4 separate regions of the Homo sapiens genome follow, and all the other regions are linked to region 1. The links are contacts of gene promoters, found by promoter capture Hi-C in human tissues and cell types (Jung and others, 2019). All regions are on one chromosome and are shown on one strand. The core of a region is centred on a gene start or on the middle of the fragment in contact, and the rest is flanking DNA. Distances in the headings are between cores, read along the strand shown. Region 1 holds the start of GAL3ST1 (galactose-3-O-sulfotransferase 1). Region 2 overlaps MTFP1 (mitochondrial fission process 1). Region 3 holds the start of SF3A1 (splicing factor 3a subunit 1). Region 4 overlaps SEC14L2 (SEC14 like lipid binding 2).

What was found. The method cuts DNA at HindIII sites, captures the fragments that hold promoters and counts their contacts. A contact is called where the count stands out against the background at its distance.
Region 2: a contact is called between a fragment that was not itself captured here and the fragment with the promoter of GAL3ST1 in region 1, in 1 of the 25 tissues and cell types used here (dorsolateral prefrontal cortex).
Region 3: a contact is called between the fragment with the promoter of SF3A1 here and the fragment with the promoter of GAL3ST1 in region 1, in 1 of the 25 tissues and cell types used here (heart left ventricle).
Region 4: a contact is called between a fragment that was not itself captured here and the fragment with the promoter of GAL3ST1 in region 1, in 2 of the 25 tissues and cell types used here (adrenal gland and dorsolateral prefrontal cortex).

The regions. Positions count from the first base shown.
Region 1 is chr22:30,573,383-30,576,082 of GRCh38, forward strand. GAL3ST1 (galactose-3-O-sulfotransferase 1) reads right to left here and starts at 1,283. Exons shown (of 4, transcript NM_001318104.2): 1 at 1,084-1,283. RefSeq lists enhancers at 1-522, 523-1,203. The HindIII fragment of the contact is 15,540 bases long and covers 1-2,700 here.
Region 2 is chr22:30,427,074-30,429,773 of GRCh38, forward strand. MTFP1 (mitochondrial fission process 1) reads left to right here. Exons shown (of 4, transcript NM_016498.5): 3 at 98-330; 4 at 1,389-1,981. The coding sequence ends at 1,461. Among named protein-coding and RNA genes, the nearest start is that of MTFP1, 2.7 kb to the left of the region's middle. RefSeq lists an enhancer at 1-74. The HindIII fragment of the contact is 3,204 bases long and covers 1-2,700 here.
Region 3 is chr22:30,355,482-30,358,181 of GRCh38, forward strand. It overlaps SF3A1 (splicing factor 3a subunit 1), which reads right to left and starts at 1,413. Exons shown (of 16, transcript NM_005877.6): 1 at 1,249-1,413. The coding sequence starts at 1,311. CCDC157 (coiled-coil domain containing 157) reads left to right here and starts at 1,526. Exons shown (of 12, transcript NM_001017437.5): 1 at 1,526-1,651. RefSeq lists a silencer at 1,110-1,359 and an enhancer at 2,295-2,700. The HindIII fragment of the contact is 21,616 bases long and covers 1-2,700 here.
Region 4 is chr22:30,399,458-30,402,157 of GRCh38, forward strand. SEC14L2 (SEC14 like lipid binding 2) reads left to right here. Exons shown (of 12, transcript NM_012429.5): 2 at 186-261. Among named protein-coding and RNA genes, the nearest start is that of SEC14L2, 3.8 kb to the left of the region's middle. RefSeq lists an enhancer at 2,334-2,700. The HindIII fragment of the contact is 5,754 bases long and covers 1-2,700 here.

The DNA.
Region 1 (2,700 bases), core at 33-2,532:
GAGCCTCAGTATCCCCCTCTGGATAATGGGGATAGGTAGCAATGCCTCCTTCACAGGACAAGGAACAGTGCGTACACAGTGACTGCTCTGGTCCAGGACTGCCCTCCTGTGCCCCCTGTGTGGGCCTGGATGAGCCTCACCCTCTCTGGGCCTCAGGTCACCCCGTCAGTAAAGGAAGAGATTGGGTTTTCCCAACTGGAATGGACAGTCCTCTACACCTCTCTCCCCTCTGGAGGATTCTCATGCACCTGTCACCGCGGCAGCCCGGGGATCAGGTGTCAGGCATGCTGCCTTCTCTCCCTTTCCTTCCCCCTGGTGTGGGTTACAGCAGCCAGACATGCCCATCACCTCTCTGGCTCTGGGCAGCTGGGCGGGGCAGTTCCCACTGGGCAGGGCTCGGTCTGTAGTGTGCTCTGTGCTGGTACCAAAATGCTGGCCTGGCACCGAAGGGGCAGATCAAGCTGGACCCCCTTCCTGGGCACTGGGCTAGGAAACAGGAACTGTAGGATTTCCTATAGGACCCCTCCTGGATGCCAGGGTTTGTCCCACTCTCCCAAACCTCTCCTTGGTGGCTTTGCTTCCTCTGGGGTACAGGCCAGGGCCTTCCCCCAGCAGAGGGGATCCATCCCTTACTATGGTCTCCGGTTCCTGCTCTGATCCCCTTTCTAGGAAGGGCTGATGGAGACAGGGGAGATCTCTGCCCCTCCTCCCCTAGGGCTCTGGCCACTGTGTCCAAGATTAATCATTAACGCACTCCCAGCTCCAGCTCAGCCCCAGCAGCCTGCCTTCTGCCCCACCCATCCCACCTTCAGGGACTGGGAAGCCCTGGAAGGGGGGTTGGGGGACAGGGGAAAAAACCAAGGGCATGGGGGGCACCAACCTGTGCCCTCCCTGGCCCCTACCAGGCCACCCTCTGGCAGTGGGCAGGGGTACCCAGCGCTTAGAACAGCGGTACTGCACTCCTACTCCCCTCCTCCGGCGCGTGGTCCCAGTTTGGGGGTTAGCGTAATGTGGGCGGTATCCCCAGGGAGTAGACTGAGGCAGGGCTCAAGCTGGCAGTGGGTGCTGGAGCCCGGGACGTACCTTGTCCCCGTCCTCCTCCGCCTCAGCGTGGCTGGCTCGGCCCGGGCCGCGCCGCCCGGGCGCTCACTGGGCGGCGGGGCGCACCCGGCCGGGCCCCCCGCTCCACCAGGCCTGGTCCATGCCCCCGCCCCCGCCGCCGCTGCCGCGCCGCGCCCGCTCCCGCGCCGCGCCCGCTCCCGGCCAGGTGCCGCCGCCAGCCTGGCCCAGCCTCCGGCGCCGGGGCCAATGGACGCCCCGGACCCCAGACCCCTCCCCGCCCCGGGCCGGCCCCCTCCCCGCCCCATCCCGGCCCCTCTGCGCCCGCCCGAGACGCACAGAAGCCGCATTCAGCGCGCTGGGGCGCAACGCTGCGCCCCCGCCGCCGGCCCAACAAGGCCCGTTTGTCTCGGACGCGCCAACGGGGCCATTGTCCCGCCCCGGTCCTCTGGCTCAACGGAGCCCCCAGCCCAGAAGACTTGAGGATGCCCAGGCTTGGTGGTGGTGGGGAGGGGAGCCAGGGCTCTGGGAAAAAGGCGGCGGACGGACTATTGCTTAACTTTGGTTGGGGGGTCCTGGGGCCCTTAGGATCCAATGGATCATACGGCTTCTTGCTCTAGTCAGTGCCAACTGGGGACGACACATTTTTGGCACTCATGGGAGTGGAGGGAGCTCAAGCAAGAGACTGAGCTCCAACTGGTCCTGTCACCTGGAGGTCTCAGCTGTCACTCTCTAGGGTGCCAATGAGGGCTGAGCAAGGCCACCAGGAGGCAGGTGTCCCATCCAGGCCCTGTCTCATTTTCCAGGCCTGGCCTTTCCTTCTTCACCCCAGAGGAGCAAGACCATGGATGAGGACCAATGCCTGCCAGGGGCCAGGAATCCTCAGCGCCAGCTGTGGGCAGTAAGGAACCAGCTGGCCACCCAGTGGGGCCTGGGATGCGTCAGAGCCCCACTGCCCCCGCCATTACTGGGCGATTCTGGAATGGGGAAAATTCCACATCAGCATGGCTGCCAGGAATTTTTCCGTATCTGATGGGCCTGCGCTCTAGCCGTGTGGCCCTGGATGCACAGTTCCCCAGACAGGCCTGAGTTGTCTCCCGGGGCTGCAGGCTCTGGCTCCAGAGGTCCTGACCCTCTGTCCCAGCCTCTGGAGGCAACCTCACTCCCTCCCATCGCCGTGTGCATGACAGAGTGGGAATGGCACACAGCCCTCTCCTTCCACCCACAGCCAGTCCCAGCTGAGAGGGGGAGCCCTAGGTTTTCTGCTCCCCAGGCCAGAGCCTGCCCAAGCTCTTGCCTTCCCCCTGCACAGGTTGGACCTACATCCACTGCCACAAAAACATTCTCTGCCCACACAGCCAGCAAACAGTGAGAGGCAGAGGGCAAGGCCCTCAGGTGCCTAGATTCAGGGAAAGTAGAGCCATTCCAAACCCACACTTCCTCAGCGTGGCCCCAACCCTCGACAGCACTCACCCCGGGAAGTGAGTCCTGGGAGGGGCTGAGTGAGCACTGGGAGACCCAGGTTGTGGTCCTGGCTCCATCATGATGCACTGGCGGTTCCAGGCAAAGGCATATCCCAATGGGCGTCAGCAGGGACACTGCCAAGGTCAGCGGGGAAGCTGTCAGGCAGGCCTCACAGAC
Region 2 (2,700 bases), core at 60-2,559, 150 kb before region 1:
CACTGGCCACTTGCCCCTCCCGGTCTAGCCTCGTGCCCCTTGTCGCAGGATTTTCTGCCTCTGCCCCAGCTGGATTAAGTGTCTCTGCGCCCACCAGGTGCCCAGCCCTGAAGCAGGCCGCAGCGCCAGGGTGACTGTGGCTGTGGTGGACACCTTTGTATGGCAGGCTCTAGCCTCTGTGGCCATTCCGGGCTTCACCATCAACCGCGTGTGTGCTGCCTCTCTCTATGTCCTGGGCACTGCCACCCGCTGGCCCCTGGCTGTCCGCAAGTGGACCACCACCGCGCTTGGGCTGTTGACCATCCCCATCATTATCCACCCCATTGACAGGTGGGTACCTTCTTGGCCTCAGGGATCATCCACTCTCCAGTGATGAGAGTGGATCATCCAGTCTCCAGGTAGAGCTAGACTCTGTGAAGTGTGGGGTATGCCCACTTTGCTGGAGCAATAGCAGGGACAAGGCTGGCACTTGGCTCCTGGGTTAGAAAGGACAGCCTGTACCCTTGTCATATGGTATGGCAGGCACTTTAGCAATAAAAGAAGAGGGGTGCGTTGAGGGTATGGGACACAGGACAAGTAAATTCCCAGAAAGAAAGTCTAGTGTTACAAAACAACCAGAGAGAAGCAGGAGCAGGTGCACCCTAGAGGGGATGCATTTTGGGAGGTATTGGTGACAGAAGCCTAACTCAAACTGAATATTTGAATAAAATGGAGTAAAAGTCCAGGGCTGTGTTGCATTCAGGCATGGCTAGATCTAGGTACCCAAATTATGTCATTAGGGGTCTGGGTCTCCCCATCCTGCTGCCTTTCTCCCCACCCCACCCTATTTCTTGCTGGCTTCACCTGCTTTCTCCTTGTGGGAGTAGAAATGGCCCTAGCAGCTCCCAAGTTCTATCCCACCAGCTTAGCCTCCCCCAGCAGAAGCTTTTAAACAGTAACAACAAAAATCCCAAGGAAGGGTGTCATTGGTCCATTCTGGACTGCATGCCCACCCTATGAGCCAGTTTCCCTTTGCTGATTGGCCAGGCTTGGGTCACGTGCTTGGTCTTAGAACTAGATATGGGCTCAACCCAACCAGACCAATGTAAGAGTGAGAGGAGCAGTCTTTCTCCAGGAGAAGATAGCTGACCCTGAGGCCCTGAGCAAGTCTTTTACCCAGTACCTCAGTTTCCTCCTGAATAAAGAAGAGGATGGCTTCTATTCTGGGAGTTTGATTCTAGCTTCCCCAGGTAGCCCAAGGTGGAAGGATCAGGATAAGGGTGGGTCTCTGGCTGGATGGCATTTGTATCCTGCATCTAAGCGCCCCTTTCCCTAACCCTGGCCTTCTGCCTTCTGTTCCCTCATGAACACCCTTGGTCACCTGCTCACCACCCTTCCACTCCCTACAGGTCGGTGGATTTCCTCCTGGACTCCAGCCTGCGCAAGCTCTACCCAACAGTGGGGAAGCCCAGCTCCTCCTGATCATACTCTGGTACCTGGCCTGTGCATCGGCCTCCTGCTTCATGTCAACCTCCTACTCCTGCCAGGGAATGTGGACACCTGGCTCCCTGGTGTCCAAAGACCCTGGCACCTGGGTGGGTTTGAGCTGGACAGAAGCTTAGAGACAAAGGCTTCAAGAAGCAGTGGCTGCAGGGAGTCACAGAAGGGCAGGACCTGAACGCTGTCTGCTTCCCTGGAATCCAAGATGCTGAGTGGAAGTGGACCCTGGGTGGGCCCGGCCCTGTCTTTTTCAGGAAAATTACATCCTCCCATGGAGGATGAGAGACTGAGGCTCAGGGAGGGCAAGGAATAGGCCCAAGATCACTTGGCAAGCTGGGCACCCAGGACCCCCAGGTGCTTGACAGAGTCACCCCATGGTGGTATGGCTGAACAAGGAGCGGCAGACAACTCAGGGAGAAACTCAGGAGTGCAGTACCAGGGACACCTCAGGACAGATTCTCTGGCCAGGCCCTTCCCTGACCCAATAAATCCTGAAGAGGTTGTTATGTCTTCATTTCTGTTTGGGAGGAGCAGGGATGTGGTGGTGGGGAGGAGGGATGGGTAGCAGTCTCCCCGCCCATTAGTGCTTCCCTGCAGGTGCCTGGCATCCCACGTTGGTGCTGCCAGCCTCCTTTGGGGTAGGCATTACCCTTTACTTACTTACTTTTAATAGAGATGGGGGTCTCCCTATGTTGCCCAGGCTGGCCTTGAATGCCTGGGCTCAAGCAATCCTCCCACCTCAGCATCCCAAACTGCTGGGATTATAGGAATGAGCCACTGCACTCAGCCTGGCATTGCCCTCTTTTTCTAGCCTCCTAAAGCACCAACCCCTCTGGGAGGGGAGCCTGTTGGGCAGATACCACCTGAGCCTGAAGGTGGCCAAGATGGTGGTGTCAGCCCCATATGAGGGTCACATGAGACCTCCTCATGAGGGGACTCGGCAGCCTGGAGAAGGAAGTGACCAGGGGGCTTCTTACACTCAGAATCAGGGAATGGCCTGTTTTCCTTGTGGCTTCCCCTGAGCTGCTGGGCTCGAGAGTGCTAGAGGGGGCCATTCCTCTGATCCTGGGCCATCCCCCTCAACAGCTCAGAGAGGTAGAGAGGTGGGAGCACAGGGCTGAAGCAGACCTGGGCCCCTCTCAGCCCTGCCCCAAGCACCAAATCAGCTCCCACCAAGACCCTGGCCCCATCCCTTGCAGCCCAGGTGCAGTCAGGTAGGCT
Region 3 (2,700 bases), core at 163-2,662, 220 kb before region 1:
CTCCCCTCATAGTGATTCTCCACACGTCTGCCTACCTGAATTTCTGAAACACAAATGTCACTATTTGGCTTAAAACACTCCCTTTTCTTCCCACTGTCTACAAGGAAAAGTTCAAATCCTAAGTAAGAATCGCATCTCCTGCCACTACGCTCCTAAGTCTATGCTTCAACACTTGTTCATTTACTCTTGATCAGAGACACCGTTTGATTCACCTCGGTGTCTTTGCGCATATTATCTGGCTATTACCTTATTTTCCCCCAATGCCTGGGAAAATGCCAGGGACACACGGGCACTTAAATATTTGTGGAAAAGGCATGGCTTCTTCAGTCATGTTCCCCCCCCCCGCCCCCCTTATTCTGAACCCAAAGCAATGATCAGCGTATGTGTTCAATAAATATTTGCTGGATGAATAAAGGATGCTATTTCCCTTCCCTAGTCACCTACCTGGCAAACTCCTATTCCTTCTTCTAAAAGAAATTTACCTCTCACTCTTGTGGGCTTCCCTACCTTAATATCCCTTCTAGCCCAGCAAACAATGTTCATTAGATTTGTACCTGAAACTTCTATCACAGGGCATATCACACCATACTACAATGGTTTGTGCACATTCGAGATTGGAGAGCTTTATTAAGGGCGGGCTGGCACTGTATCATCGATGGCCATTGGGACAACAAACATTTGGTGAGCATTCTCATATGTCTGTCTTCTCGTTAGCCTGTGAGCTCCCTAGGCAGGGACCATGCCCCATTCATTCCGGTAATGTGGGAGCCTGGCACGGTGTCTGGCTTGGGGCAGACACCGAAATAGATGCTGAGAATTAACATCCAAAGATGTACCGTGCAGGCTGGGAAATTAGCCATTACTGGGGAAAGGCTGTGGCCGGCGGCCCCAACTGCTACATAAGATCAGAGGATGGGCTGGATCAGCGCCTCTCGCACTTATAAATCAATCACCTTAGGATTTTGTTCAAATGTAGATTCCTATTTAAAAGATCTACGGCGGAGACTCCACATTTCTAAGAAGCTCCCGGCTCGTGCCGACGGGGCTGCTCCGCGGACCACTTAGAGAATCCCGTTCAGGGTGGCTCATTTCGCTACCAGAACACCACCATAGCGCGGGAAGCGCGCAGCCTCTTGGGACTTGCAGTCCCTCCAAGCCCTTCATAGCGGCCGGCCGCTTATTCCTGTGCGAGTAAGGAGCGCCCAGGCCAACCCTCCGGCTGCAGGCTGAGGGGCGGGGGAGAGGTACCTGTTTGGGCTCCGTGGGCACGGGCGGCGGCGGGGGCACCGCCTGCACGGGTCCGGCCGGCATGACTGCGACGCTCAGGGCTGCCAGTCCGCCTCGGTGTCGGTGAGCGGTGCCGCCTCAAGACAGCCTCCCCGCTCGGTCAGTACGACGAGCTCGCAAGATGGCGGCGGCCGAGCGAGTTGCGGCCGCGAAGGTACGACTGGCGCACTTCCGGGACCGTCCCCTCGCCGTGACGCGCTTCCCGCCCCTCCCCGCGGGCACCGCGGCGTCCGACGCCGTTGCCAAGGCAGCGGCCTGAGCGCCCGGCTAGGGCTTTTCGGGGATCCCGGTGGCCGCAGGCGCACCGGGGGCAGTTCCGGGAGCCGACCAGACACGAAGGCTGAAGCCGCGACGCCGAAGACAGGTGAGATGTTGTACGTCACCCGCCGGACCCCCGCCGCACTCACCTCGCGGCTCCTTTACTCCACAGGCCAGTACCTCGCTCCCTTCGACCCCGCCTTCCAAGAGCCCAGCTCCCTCCCATTGGTCTCTCATTTAGGAGAGCCCCTGTCCCCTCAGGCTCACCGCCTAAGAGCCCCACTTCCCTACTCCCTTAGTCCCCCCTTTCATTTCAGACCCACATCCTCCAAGCCCCGCTTCCAAATCCTACGCCCTTAATTCGCTTTTCCCACGGAACCTGCCTTTTCTTGCTTCCATCCCCTGCCTTCCGTAGTCCCGCCCTCAAGCCCCACTGGGGGCCTCCCTCTCAAATCAAGGCTGCTGCTTTCTTTGTCTTTCTTTTTTCTTTTTTTCTGAGACAAGGTCTTGCTCTGTCACCCAGGCTGGAGTGCAGTGGCGCGATCTTGACTCTCTGCAACCTCCGCCTCCCGAGTTCAAGCGATTCTCCTGCCTCAGCCTCCCGAGTGGCTGGGACTACAGGCGCCCACCACACCCGGCTAATTTTTTTTTTTTTTTTTTTGGCATTTTTAGTAGAGACGGGGTTTCACCATGCTGGCCAGGCTGGTCTGGAACTCCTGACCTCAAATGATCCGCCCGCCTCGGCTTCCCAAAGTGTTAGGGTTACAGGCGTGAGCCACCGCGCCCGGCCAGTTTTTAAATTTTTTTTTTTGTAGGGACATGGGAGGACGTCTCCCTATGTTGCCCAGGCTGGTCTCAAACTCCTGGGGTCAAGCGATCCTCCCGCCTTGGCCTCCCAAAGTGCTGGGATTACACGCATGAGCCATCACGCAGGGCTGCTGCTTTAGGCTTCACCCCTCACTCTCACAGATGCAGCCCTGCAAGCTATGCGGCTCGCTCCCCAGAGGCCTACCTCGAATCCCGCCGGCTTCTCTCCCTCTCCTGCGATTCCCCCCTCTCTCCTTCCTCCTCTCCTCAACTCTGGAAAGCGGGGAGCTGGCTCCGAACCTGTTCCTGGACTTCAGTTTCCTCACCTGTGAAATGAGGGAGTGATAG
Region 4 (2,700 bases), core at 186-2,685, 170 kb before region 1:
GGAGTGGAGATCGCCCACCGCACTCCAGCCTGGGCGAGAGTGCGAGACTCTATCTCAAAAAAAAAAAAAAAAAAAAAAAAGAAACAAAGAAAGAGGCGTCCAGCAAAGATCTCAGTGGAGAGTCCTAGGCAGAGGGCAGCAGTCAGGGCGGGCCCTACCACTCACCCCGATGCCTCTCCCTACAGTTTCGGGAGAATGTCCAGGATGTGCTGCCGGCCCTGCCGAATCCAGATGACTATTTTCTCCTGCGTTGGCTCCGAGGTGAGGGAAGAGGGGCTGCGGGAGGCTGGGGCAGGGGCTTGTTCTGGGCAACAGAATAGCACCCTCTGAAAACCCTGCCCTTGGCAATTGAGGCATCTAGAGTGTCCAACCTTTAGCGCCAAAGGGCCCTTGGCAATGACATAAGCTCAACCCTCCTAGTGGATAAAGACACTGAGGCTCAGAGAGGTCAAGTGACTTGTTCCAAGCCACACAGTGAGCGAACTGCAGGCAGAGAAAAGGGGAGAGTCCAGGTCGGCTGACCCTTGGCCCACAGCCTTTTCCATCTACTCAAGAAATCTGCTCTGCTGATGGAGTTGGGGAAATTGGCTGAAGAAAAAGTGAGAAAGGCCCCAGCCATGTGGGGGGTCGGAGGCAGAGCCAAGTGTAGAACCAGAGTCCTGGCCCCTGCTATGCCCTAGTGTGATGGCAGGTCCCTGCAGACCACAGTTTAGGCAACTTGAGGGAGGGGCAGAGTGCATGGGGAACCTGAGGGGCACAGCCTGACCTAGAGTGACAAGAGTCTCCTCAAACCACCACCAGGCTCTAGAGCCCAGGTCCTGGTTCCAGCTCTTCCCCAGCCTGGCTGTGGTGCCTTGTTCAGGGTAAATACTTCCCTAGGATCCTCCTCTGGAAGAGCAGGACAAGACCTGCCTGCTGCAAGACGTGACATGACAGAACTCTGCATGTGGTGTTGAAATGCACACATTTCTACTGGCATGAGGGTCAAATTCAGCCTGGTGCCCCAATCCCTGAGATGTTTCCATTCCTTCCCCTCCTCTCCTTTCCTGTGATTCAGGTCATGTGCCACCCTCCCTGATTCTTCTGACACTTTTTTTCCCCTCTATATAGAAATTTTATTAACAGACATAGAAATAATAAAGAAAATTCCATTATGGCCAGGTGCGGTGGCTCACGCCTGTAATCCCAGCAGTTTGGGAGGCTAGGCGGGCAGATCACTTGAGGCCAGGACTTCGAGACCAGCCTGGCTGACATGGTGAAACTCCACCTCTACTAAAAAACACAAAAATTAGCCGGGCATGGTGGCGGGCACCTGTAATCCCAGCTACTCAGGAGGCTGAGGTGGGAGGGTCGCTTGAACCCGGGAGGTGGAGGTTGCAGTGAGCTGACATTTCGCCACTGCACTCCAGCCTGGGTGACAGAGGGAGACTCCGTCTCAAAAAAAAAAAAAAAAAAAAAAAAAAAAAGAAGGTTACCTTTTTTTTTTTCTTTTTAGTAGAGACCTAGGTTTCACGTTGGCCAGGCTGGTCTCGAACTCCTGGCCTCAAGTGATCTGCCTGCCTTGGCCTCCCAAAGTGTGGTATAGAATCATATCCTAAAATATTAAAGTACAAATTATGCCCTATTATTTTAATTTTAATTTCTTTTTTTGAGACAGGGTCTCACTCTGCTGCCCAGGCAATGGGCATGATCGTAGGTCACTGCTGCCTTGAACTCCTGGTCTCAAGTGATTTATTTATTTATTTATTTATTTATTTATTTATTTATTTAGAGATGGAGTCTTGCTCTGTTGCCCAGGCTGGAGTGCAATGGTGCAGTCTCGGCTCACTGCCACCTCCACCTCCCAGGTTCAAGCAATTCTTCTGCCTCAGCCTCCTGAGTAGCTGGGATTATAGGCTCCCACCACCACACCGGCTAAGGGTTTCACCATGTTGGCCAGGCTGGTCTCAAACTCCTGACCTCAGGTGATCTGCCCACCTCAGCCTCCCAAAGTGTTAGGATTACAGGCGTGAGCCACCACACCTGGCTGTTATTTTTATTTTATATTTTTATTTTTATTATTTTTATTTTTTTTGAGACAGAGTCTCACTCTGTCGCCCAGGCTGGACTGCAATGGTGCGATCTCGGCTCACTGCAACCTCCACCTCCCAGTTTCAAGCAATTCTCCTACCTCAGCCTCCCAAGTAGCTGGGATTACAGGCATGCGCCACCACGCCCGGCTAATTTTTTTTTTTTTTGTATCTTTAGTAGAGACGGGGTTTCACTATGTTGGCCAGCCTGGTCTCGAATTCCTGACCTCATGATCCATCCGCCTTGGCCTATTTTTACTTTTGAAACAGGGTCTTGCTGGCCTCAAACTCCTGGGATCAAGTGATCCTCCCACCTCAGCCTCCCGAGTAGCTTGGCCTACAGGTACACACCACTGTGACTGGCCCTATTATTTCTTTATGGACACATAAAGACATGCACATGCACACCCTAGGAGTCTTGGGGCAGATGAAGAGATGTATTTTCCTTTTCTTTCCAGAAATTTCACAGAGCTGGCACGCTCCTGAGAGGCTGCTTGTAAACATCTGAGGGCAGATCCATCCAGGAGCCTCTGGAAGTGTCACTTGCCCCTTTCCCCAAAAAAGCTTCCATACCATCCCCCTACCCCAGTCCACCGCCCAGAGATGGTGGAGGGGTAGTGTGGGGGCGGCA